Linked DNA regions of Homo sapiens: region 1 is linked to region 2. The links are contacts of gene promoters, found by promoter capture Hi-C in human tissues and cell types (Jung and others, 2019). All regions are on one chromosome and are shown on one strand. Each heading gives the region's core, a stretch centred on a gene start or on the middle of the fragment in contact. The rest is flanking DNA. Distances are from core to core; before and after follow the strand shown. Region 1 has its middle 62 kb from the start of LINC01537. Region 2 holds the start of IL18BP (interleukin 18 binding protein).

Region 1 (3,931 bases), core at 325-2,824, 510 kb after region 2:
CATCCGAAATCTAGGCAGTGATGCCAAGCCTCAATCACTCTTGCACTCTGTGCATCTAAAGGCTTAACACCATATGAAAGCCACCAAGGCTTATGGCTTGCACCCTCTGAAGCAACAGCATGAGCTGTATCTGGGGCCTTTTGAGCTGAGGCTGGAGCTGGAGTGTCCTGGATGCAGGGAACAGAATCCTGAGGTTATGCAGGGAAGTGGAGCCTTGGCCCCCGAAACCATTCTTTCCTCCTAGGCCTCAGAGCCTGTGGTGAGAGGTGCTACCTCTTAGATCTCTGAAATGCCTTTGCGGTCTTTTTCCCATTGTCTTGGTTACCAGCACTTGGATCCCTTTTAGTTATGCAAATTTCTGTAGCAAATGGGTGTTCTGCTGCCTGCTACAATTCCTCTCCCAGAAAAGCTTTTTCTTTCTCTGCTACATGGCCAACCTTCAAATTTCCCAAACTTTTATGCTCTGCTTCCTGTCTAAATATAAACTCCAAACTTAAGTCTTTTCTTTTCTCTCAAATCTGAGTGTAGGTTGTTCAAAGCAGCCAGGCCACATCTTGAACACTTTGCTGCTTAGAAATTTCTTCTGCCAAATACCCTAAATCAAGTTTGTCCAACCTGCAGCCTGCTGGCCGCATGTGACCCAGAATGACTTTGAGTGAAGCCCAATACAAATTCATAAACTTTCTTAAAACATTGTGAGTTTTTTGTGATTTTTTTTTTCTAGCTCATCAGCTATCGTTAGTGTTAGTGTATTTTATGTATGGTCCAAGAACAATTCTTCTTCCACTGTGGCCCAGGGAAGCCAAAAGATTGGATACCCTTGCCCTAAATCATCACTCTTTAGTTTAAACTTCCACAGATCCTTAGGACATGGACAAAATGGAGACAAGTTTTTTGCTAAGGCATAACACACATGACCTTTGCTCCAGTTCCCAATACGTTTCTCATTTCCATCTGAGACCTCATAAGCCTGGACTTCATCATCCATATTACTATTGTTGTAAGACTTTTCCTTAATTGAGTGAAAGATGGGGTCCTTGTCCATCCCACAGCCACAAAAATTTAGGCTCGTAGATGATTTGAAGGGTGAGTGAAGCAGGGTTTTACTGGGTTAAAAGGAAGAAAAGGGGGAAACAGGGACTCTCACTAGGCCAGAGTCCCTCCACTAGAGTGCTTCCTGCCCGGGTGATTGAATCCCAGGTTCCACACAGGAAGAGGAGGCACCAGGCTCCTCCCTGCTGCAAAGGTCATGAACTTCCTGAGGCTCCACCTCAGTGGGCAGGCTGGTTGGAGTTTCTCCAGGGACTCCCTCCCACCTGGCTGTCTCACTATCAGCATTTTGGTCACAATCATTTAACCAGTCTCTAAGAAGTTCTGGACTTCCCTTGGTCTTCCTCTCTTTTTCTGAGCCCTCCAAACTCTTCCAACCTCTGCCTGTTACCCATTTCCAAAGCTGCTTCCATGTTTTCAGGTATCTTTATAGCAAGGCCTCACTCCTCAGTAACAATTTTCTGTATTAGGCCATTCTTGCATTGCTATAAAGAAATACCTGAGACTGGGTCACTTATAAAGAAAAGAGGTTTCATTGGCTCATAGTTCTGCAGGTTTTACAGAAAGGATGGTGCTGGTATCTGCTTGGCTCTGTTGAACTGTTGAGGAGCATTCAATCACGGTGGAAGGTGAAAGGGGAACAGGCAGGTCACATGGTGAAAGCAGGAACAAGTGAGAGTGTAGGGGGAGGTCCACTTTTAAATGGCCAGATCTTGGCAAGAACTCACTATTGCAAAGACACCACCAAGCCGTGAGGGATCCACCCCCATGACCAAAACCCCTCCCACCAGGCCCCACTTACAGCATTGGGGATTACAATTCAACATGAGATTTGGGCAGGGACAAATATCCAAACTACATTAGCTGGATATGAAATTCTTGGTTGGAATTTCTTTTCTTTAAGAATGCTGAATAGGCCGGGCACGATGGCTCATGCCTGTAATCCCAGCACTTTGGGAGGCCGAGGTGGGCAGATCATGACGTCAGGAGATCGAGACCATCCTGGCTAGCATGGTGAAATCCGTCTCCACTAAAAATACAAAAAATTAGCCGGGTGTGGTGGCAGGCGCCTGTAGTCCCAGCTACTTGGGAGGCTGAGGCAGGAGAATGGTGTGAACCCAGCAGGCAGAGCTTGCAGTGAGCCGAGATTACACCACTGCACTCCAGCCTGGGCAACAATGCAAGACTCCATCTCAAAAAATAAATAAATATATAAAAGAATGCTGAATATAGGCCACCAATCTCTTCTGGCTTGTAGAGTTTCTACTGACAGGTTCACTGTTAGCCTGATGAGGTTCCCTTTGTTGATGACCTGCCCTTTCTCTCTAGCTGCCTTAAACATTTTTTCTTTCATTTCAACTTTGGAGAATCTGATGACTATGTGTCTTAGGGATGGTCATCTTATACAGTACCTCACAGGGGTTCTCTGCATTTCCTGAATTTGACTGTTGGCCTCTGTAGCGAGGTTGGAAAGATTTTCAAGAATGATATCTTCAGATATGTTTTCCAAGTTGTTTGCTTTTTCTCCCTCTCTTTCAGGGATGCCAATGAGTCATAGATTTGGTCTCTTTACATAATACCATCTTTCTCAGAGATTTTGTTCATTCTTTTTTATTTCTTCACTTTTGTCTGACTGAGTTACATTGGAGGACTGGCCTTCAAGCTCTGAGATTCTTTCCTCAGCTTGGTTTATTCTGCTATCAATATTTGTAATTATGAAATTCTTGAAGTAAGGTTTTCAGCTCAATCATATCAGTTTGATTCTTTCTTCAAATGGCCATTTCATCTTTCAGTTCCTGTGTTGTTTTATTATATTCCTTAGATTCCTTGGATTGGGTTCTGACTTTCTCCTGAATCTCAATGATCTTCATTCCTATCCATGTTCTGAATTCTGTATCTGTCATTTCAGCCTAATTAAGAACCATTCCTGGGGAAGTAGTGCCATTATTTGGAGGTAAGAGGACATTTTGGCTTTTTGACTTGCCAGAGTTCTTGCACTGGTTCTTTCTCGTTTATGTGGGCTGATATTCCTTCAATCTTTGAAGTTGCTGTCCTTTGGATAGAATTTTTTGTTTTTATCTTCTTTGATCCCCTTGGGGGTTTGATTGTGGTATAAAGTGGGTTTAGTTGACTGGCTTCATTTCTGAAAGATTTTCGGAGGCCCAGTCTCAGCTCAGTAGTCCTGGGAAGCATGCTCTGGGAGGCTGGTACTGGGCTCTTGGCTTTATTCTCTGGCCTCTTGAGGTTAGGAACCTGCTGTACTGAAGGGGCCACAGTGCTCCTGATCCACTGGCCACAACACTCCAATGAGTGGTGCCAGCTAAAGAACTTTGTTGGGGCAGTGGCAGCGGGATCCATGCTCCCCTGCATGTGCCAGTAACTGTGGCAGTGTGGTGGGGGTACACGTGCATTGTCTGAGGCAGGGCATTAGCTGGAGCAGGGTGGCAGTGTTCCTGCATGTGCTTACACCAGTAGTGGGTGCAGCATGGTGGGGATGGGACACTGGTAGGGGTGGGATTGCTGGTGTCTGTGTGTGCATTTGTGCCAGCAGTGGTGGTACAGCAGGGTGCCCATGTGTTAGTGGAGGGAGGGGTGGTAGGGTGCACTAGTGTTGGCAGTGGTGACATGGTGGGGTGCATGCGCACATTCACTGACAGTGGAGTGGGGTGAGGTCCACCTATGCATGCCTGCTGGCAAAGTGGTGGAGCAGGGGCTGTAGACAAATGTGTGCTGGCAAAGTGGCAGGGGGAGTCAATGGTGGAGGGAGACTGTGTGTGGACTGATGTGCATTGGCAGGGGCCCATCTGCTGGAGCTCTCCAACAGCGAGGTGTGGTCTGACAATGAAGAAGTTATGATGAGGTTCCCTGGATATAGCAGTTG
Region 2 (3,772 bases), core at 56-2,555:
TCTTGCTTTCTTCTTCCCACCTCTTTCCCTGGGGTCCCCAGGGGTGTCTTGCCTTTGTTAACCCCCATCGGAGACCTGAGGGTCTGGGGGTGGTTGGGCCTGCCTTTCTGCTGTTCCCAGCTGTTCCCCTGCTGACATCCCTAGGAGTGGTGGAATGCCAGGCTCCTGTCCTGTGGCCTGGGGGCCTGGGGCATCATTGGGCCTGCCTTCAGACTGAGGTTGCTCTATGTTCTCACTGCCTGAGGACAGTGTCCCGCCACCACCTGCCTTCCTGAGGACCACACTCAGGCTCGGCTTCTCTTCCCCAGCTGTGGCTTCCCATGGTACCCTGCTGCTTATGCCACCTGTGGGGCTGTTCCCCTCCTCAGAGAGGGGAATGGGGCTGGTCAGAGGACCTAGGGATCACCCTTCCTTTTACTTTTTCCCCCCACCCCCCTGTCAGGCTCAGGTGAGAAGCCGAGGCCAGGCTGTCCAAAGCTCTTTTCATGTGTAACAGTTCTGAGTCCCTTGACCTCCCCCCTTGGCCTGACTCTGGTCTCGGTTCCACTAAGACAGAGTCCTGTCATCTTTCCCTACCATCCCCCACTGGACTGTCTCTCTCAGAAACCCCAGGCAGCCTTGCCTCCTGACCTAACTCCTGGAGATGCTGGTGTTCTTGGGAGGAATTTCTCCTGCATCTTACATGCTAGAAGCCCCTGGGGCAGGAGGTAGGGGGAGGAATTGAGAGGAGGAAAAACATGAACTAGACACCTAGAGAAGAAGGATGTGACTTGTAGTATCCTATGTCTAAATTAGGAATATGAATCTGGTTTTTCTACAAGAAGTTTGAGATCACAGCTGACTGTGTTCCTGATGCATCCACCAAACCCAGTTCCATCTGTGGGCCTCCCTGGCTCTGTCACCAGCCGTTGCACCCTCCCAATCACAGGAGTCACAAACCTCAGACATGCAGCTCCTGTCCACACTTAATATATGCATGCATTGGATCACCCAGCCCTGGTCTTTCTGCCTCCATGGATAACTGCATGACCCTGAGAGAAAACCTCCTTAGATTTAGCATCCTAGGTTCCTCACACGCCTCACCCTGAATCCTGGCCCTCCCGCAGCCCCAGCGCCATTTGTCCCATCAGTGACAAGATTCATATTCTGATGTAGACTCTGTTGCCAGAGCCAGTGTTGAGCCAGTCCGCCTCTTCCCCGGGAAGTGCCTGCCCTTCCCTCCTGTTAGGGTTGGCTCTCGAGCTTGTGTGCCAGTTCCTGGGTTGGCCGTGAGAGTTCTACAGACAAGGAGGAAGTGCTCTCGGTGTATTTCCTGTGGTGGGTTCACACGCAGCTAGACACAGCTAACTTGAGTCTTGGAGCTCCTAGAGGGAAGCTTCTGGAAAGGAAGGCTCTTCAGGACCTCTTAGGAGCCAGGTAGGAGTCTGGGACTACTAGTGAACCTAGACCTGTGGCTCTGGCCAGAGGGGCTAGGATGAGAGACAGAGGGTGTGATGGTGGGTGCTGGGAGATGTAGCCGACCTTGGGGCTGGTGGCTGGGGGAGTGGGTAGCCTGGGAAAGGCCAGGATGTGGACGGACTGGTATGGCATTGAGCCTGAAGTGGTCCAACTTGGGGTTCCCCAGTGCCTAGGAAAGTTGTCCCCTTGAATGTCAGTGTGAAGGTGAAGGAGGAAGCAGATGCCTGTTCATATGGAAACAAAGACCTGGCTGTGAAGAGGGGAGGCGGACACCAAAGTCCTGACACTTGGGCGGGACAGAATTGATCTGTGAGAGACTCATCTAGTTCATACCCTAGGTGACCCTGGGGGTGGCATGGGGGTAGATTAGAGATCCCAGTCTGGTATCCTCTGGAGAGTAGGAGTCCCAGGAGCTGAAGGTTTCTGGCCACTGAACTTTGGCTAAAGCAGAGGTGTCACAGCTGCTCAAGATTCCCTGGTTAAAAAGTGAAAGTGAAATAGAGGGTCGGGGCAGTGCTTTCCCAGAAGGATTGCTCGGCATCCTGCCCTTCCCAGAAGCAGCTCTGGTGCTGAAGAGAGCACTGCCTCCCTGTGTGACTGGGTGAGTCCATATTCTCTCTTTGGGTCTCAATTTTGCCTTCCCTAATGAAGGGGTAAGATTGGACTAGGTAAGCATCTTACAACCATTTGTGGTCATGAGAGCTGGGGTGGGGAAGGATTGTCACTTGACCCCCCCAGCTCTGTTTCTAAGTGCTGAAAGAGCTCCAGGCTATGCTACGGGAGGAGAAGCCAGCTACTGAGGAAAAGCCAGCTACTGAGAAAAAGCGGGAGTGGTTTACCATTCTCCTCCCCCACCTTTCACCAGAGAAGAGGACGTTGTCACAGATAAAGAGCCAGGCTCACCAGCTCCTGACGCATGCATCATGACCATGAGACACAACTGGACACCAGGTAGGCCTTGGGGCTACGCATGGGCAGGCGGGGTAGGGTGAGGTCTATGAACAGAATGGAGCAATGGGCTAACCCGGAGCCTTCACTCCAAGGCAAACCACCCAGCGCACCTGGTGCTGTTGCTTTAAGAACCTGGGCAGATATTGTAGCTCTGGCTCCAGTCTAAAGCTTCTCTGTACTCTGTTCAATAAAGGGCTAAGGGGTGGGTGCTGAGGGGTCCCTCTTCCCGCTCTGATTCCCTGGCTAGAACCCAGACATCTCTGGGCTGGAGTTACATCCTTACCCGGGCAGCCCACTCTGTCTCCAGAGCCGCTGACCTGTAACTGTCCTTTCCTCAGACCTCAGCCCTTTGTGGGTCCTGCTCCTGTGTGCCCACGTCGTCACTCTCCTGGTCAGAGCCACACCTGTCTCGCAGACCACCACAGCTGCCACTGCCTCAGTTAGAAGCACAAAGGACCCCTGCCCCTCCCAGCCCCCAGTGTTCCCAGCAGCTAAGCAGTGTCCAGCATTGGAAGTGACCTGGCCAGAGGTGGAAGTGCCACTGAGTAAGAAGCACAGTGGTGGAGGGTGGGCTATGGGCACAGAGGTTCCCAGGGTCGGGTTGACTCCTGAGCGCCAGTCCCCTTCTGCCCATGTACCACCAGCTGAGCCAGCTGGGCTGAGCACGCACCATTCTCCCTCCCCAACCCAGTGTCATGGGTGCAGGCTTGGCGCAGCTCCCAAGATGCTCCCTATCAAATAGGACAGAGAACTCAAGACATAAGTAATGGTCACAGGACCTCCCAGAGCCTTGGTTGCAGTGGACCCCAAGGCCAGCCCCTCCACCCAGAGCCTGCTGGCCTCTGGCCATCTCAGAGGAGCAGCAGCCATCCAGCACTGCCTTTGTCACCTGGGCTCCCAAGTCACCGAGGCTGGGCACTAGAAAAGGTCATCCTGAGGAGACAGGTTCAGAAGAGGATTCATCACGTGAACCAAGGACCATTCCTCACATTCCCCGTGTTTAGGGCTAGGGCCTCTCGGAGACAACTGCACTTCTGTAACGGACGTTCCCACCTAGGTGGTGTGCAGAGCAGTTCTCTAGGTTCCAGATGCATGGGGACTGGGGGGAGCTGGCAGGGAGGGCACAGCAGAGCAGGGTAGGGGAAGGGCCTGCTCTTCTGAAGAGCTAACTGCTGCCTGTGTCCCTAGATGGAACGCTGAGCTTATCCTGTGTGGCCTGCAGCCGCTTCCCCAACTTCAGCATCCTCTACTGGCTGGGCAATGGTTCCTTCATTGAGCACCTCCCAGGCCGACTGTGGGAGGGGAGCACCAGGTGAGGGTCGCAGCAGCCAGGTGGGTGGGAAGGAGGCCTTCTGCGGCCTTC

The links. Contacts are between HindIII fragments. The study calls those that stand out against the background at their distance.
Region 1: a fragment that was not itself captured here is called in contact with the fragment with the promoter of IL18BP in region 2 in 2 of the 25 tissues and cell types used here (dorsolateral prefrontal cortex and hippocampus).

What each region holds. Positions count from the first base shown.
Region 1 is chr11:72,506,990-72,510,920 of GRCh38, forward strand. No RefSeq gene overlaps it. Among named protein-coding and RNA genes, the nearest start is that of LINC01537, 62 kb to the right of the region's middle. The HindIII fragment of the contact is 8,278 bases long and covers 1-3,931 here.
Region 2 is chr11:71,997,604-72,001,375 of GRCh38, forward strand. It overlaps IL18BP (interleukin 18 binding protein), which reads left to right and starts at 1,306. Exons shown (of 6, transcript NM_001039660.2): 1 at 1,306-1,416; 2 at 2,324-2,409; 3 at 2,748-2,954; 4 at 3,598-3,721. The coding sequence starts at 2,382. The HindIII fragment of the contact is 6,503 bases long and covers 1-1,976 here.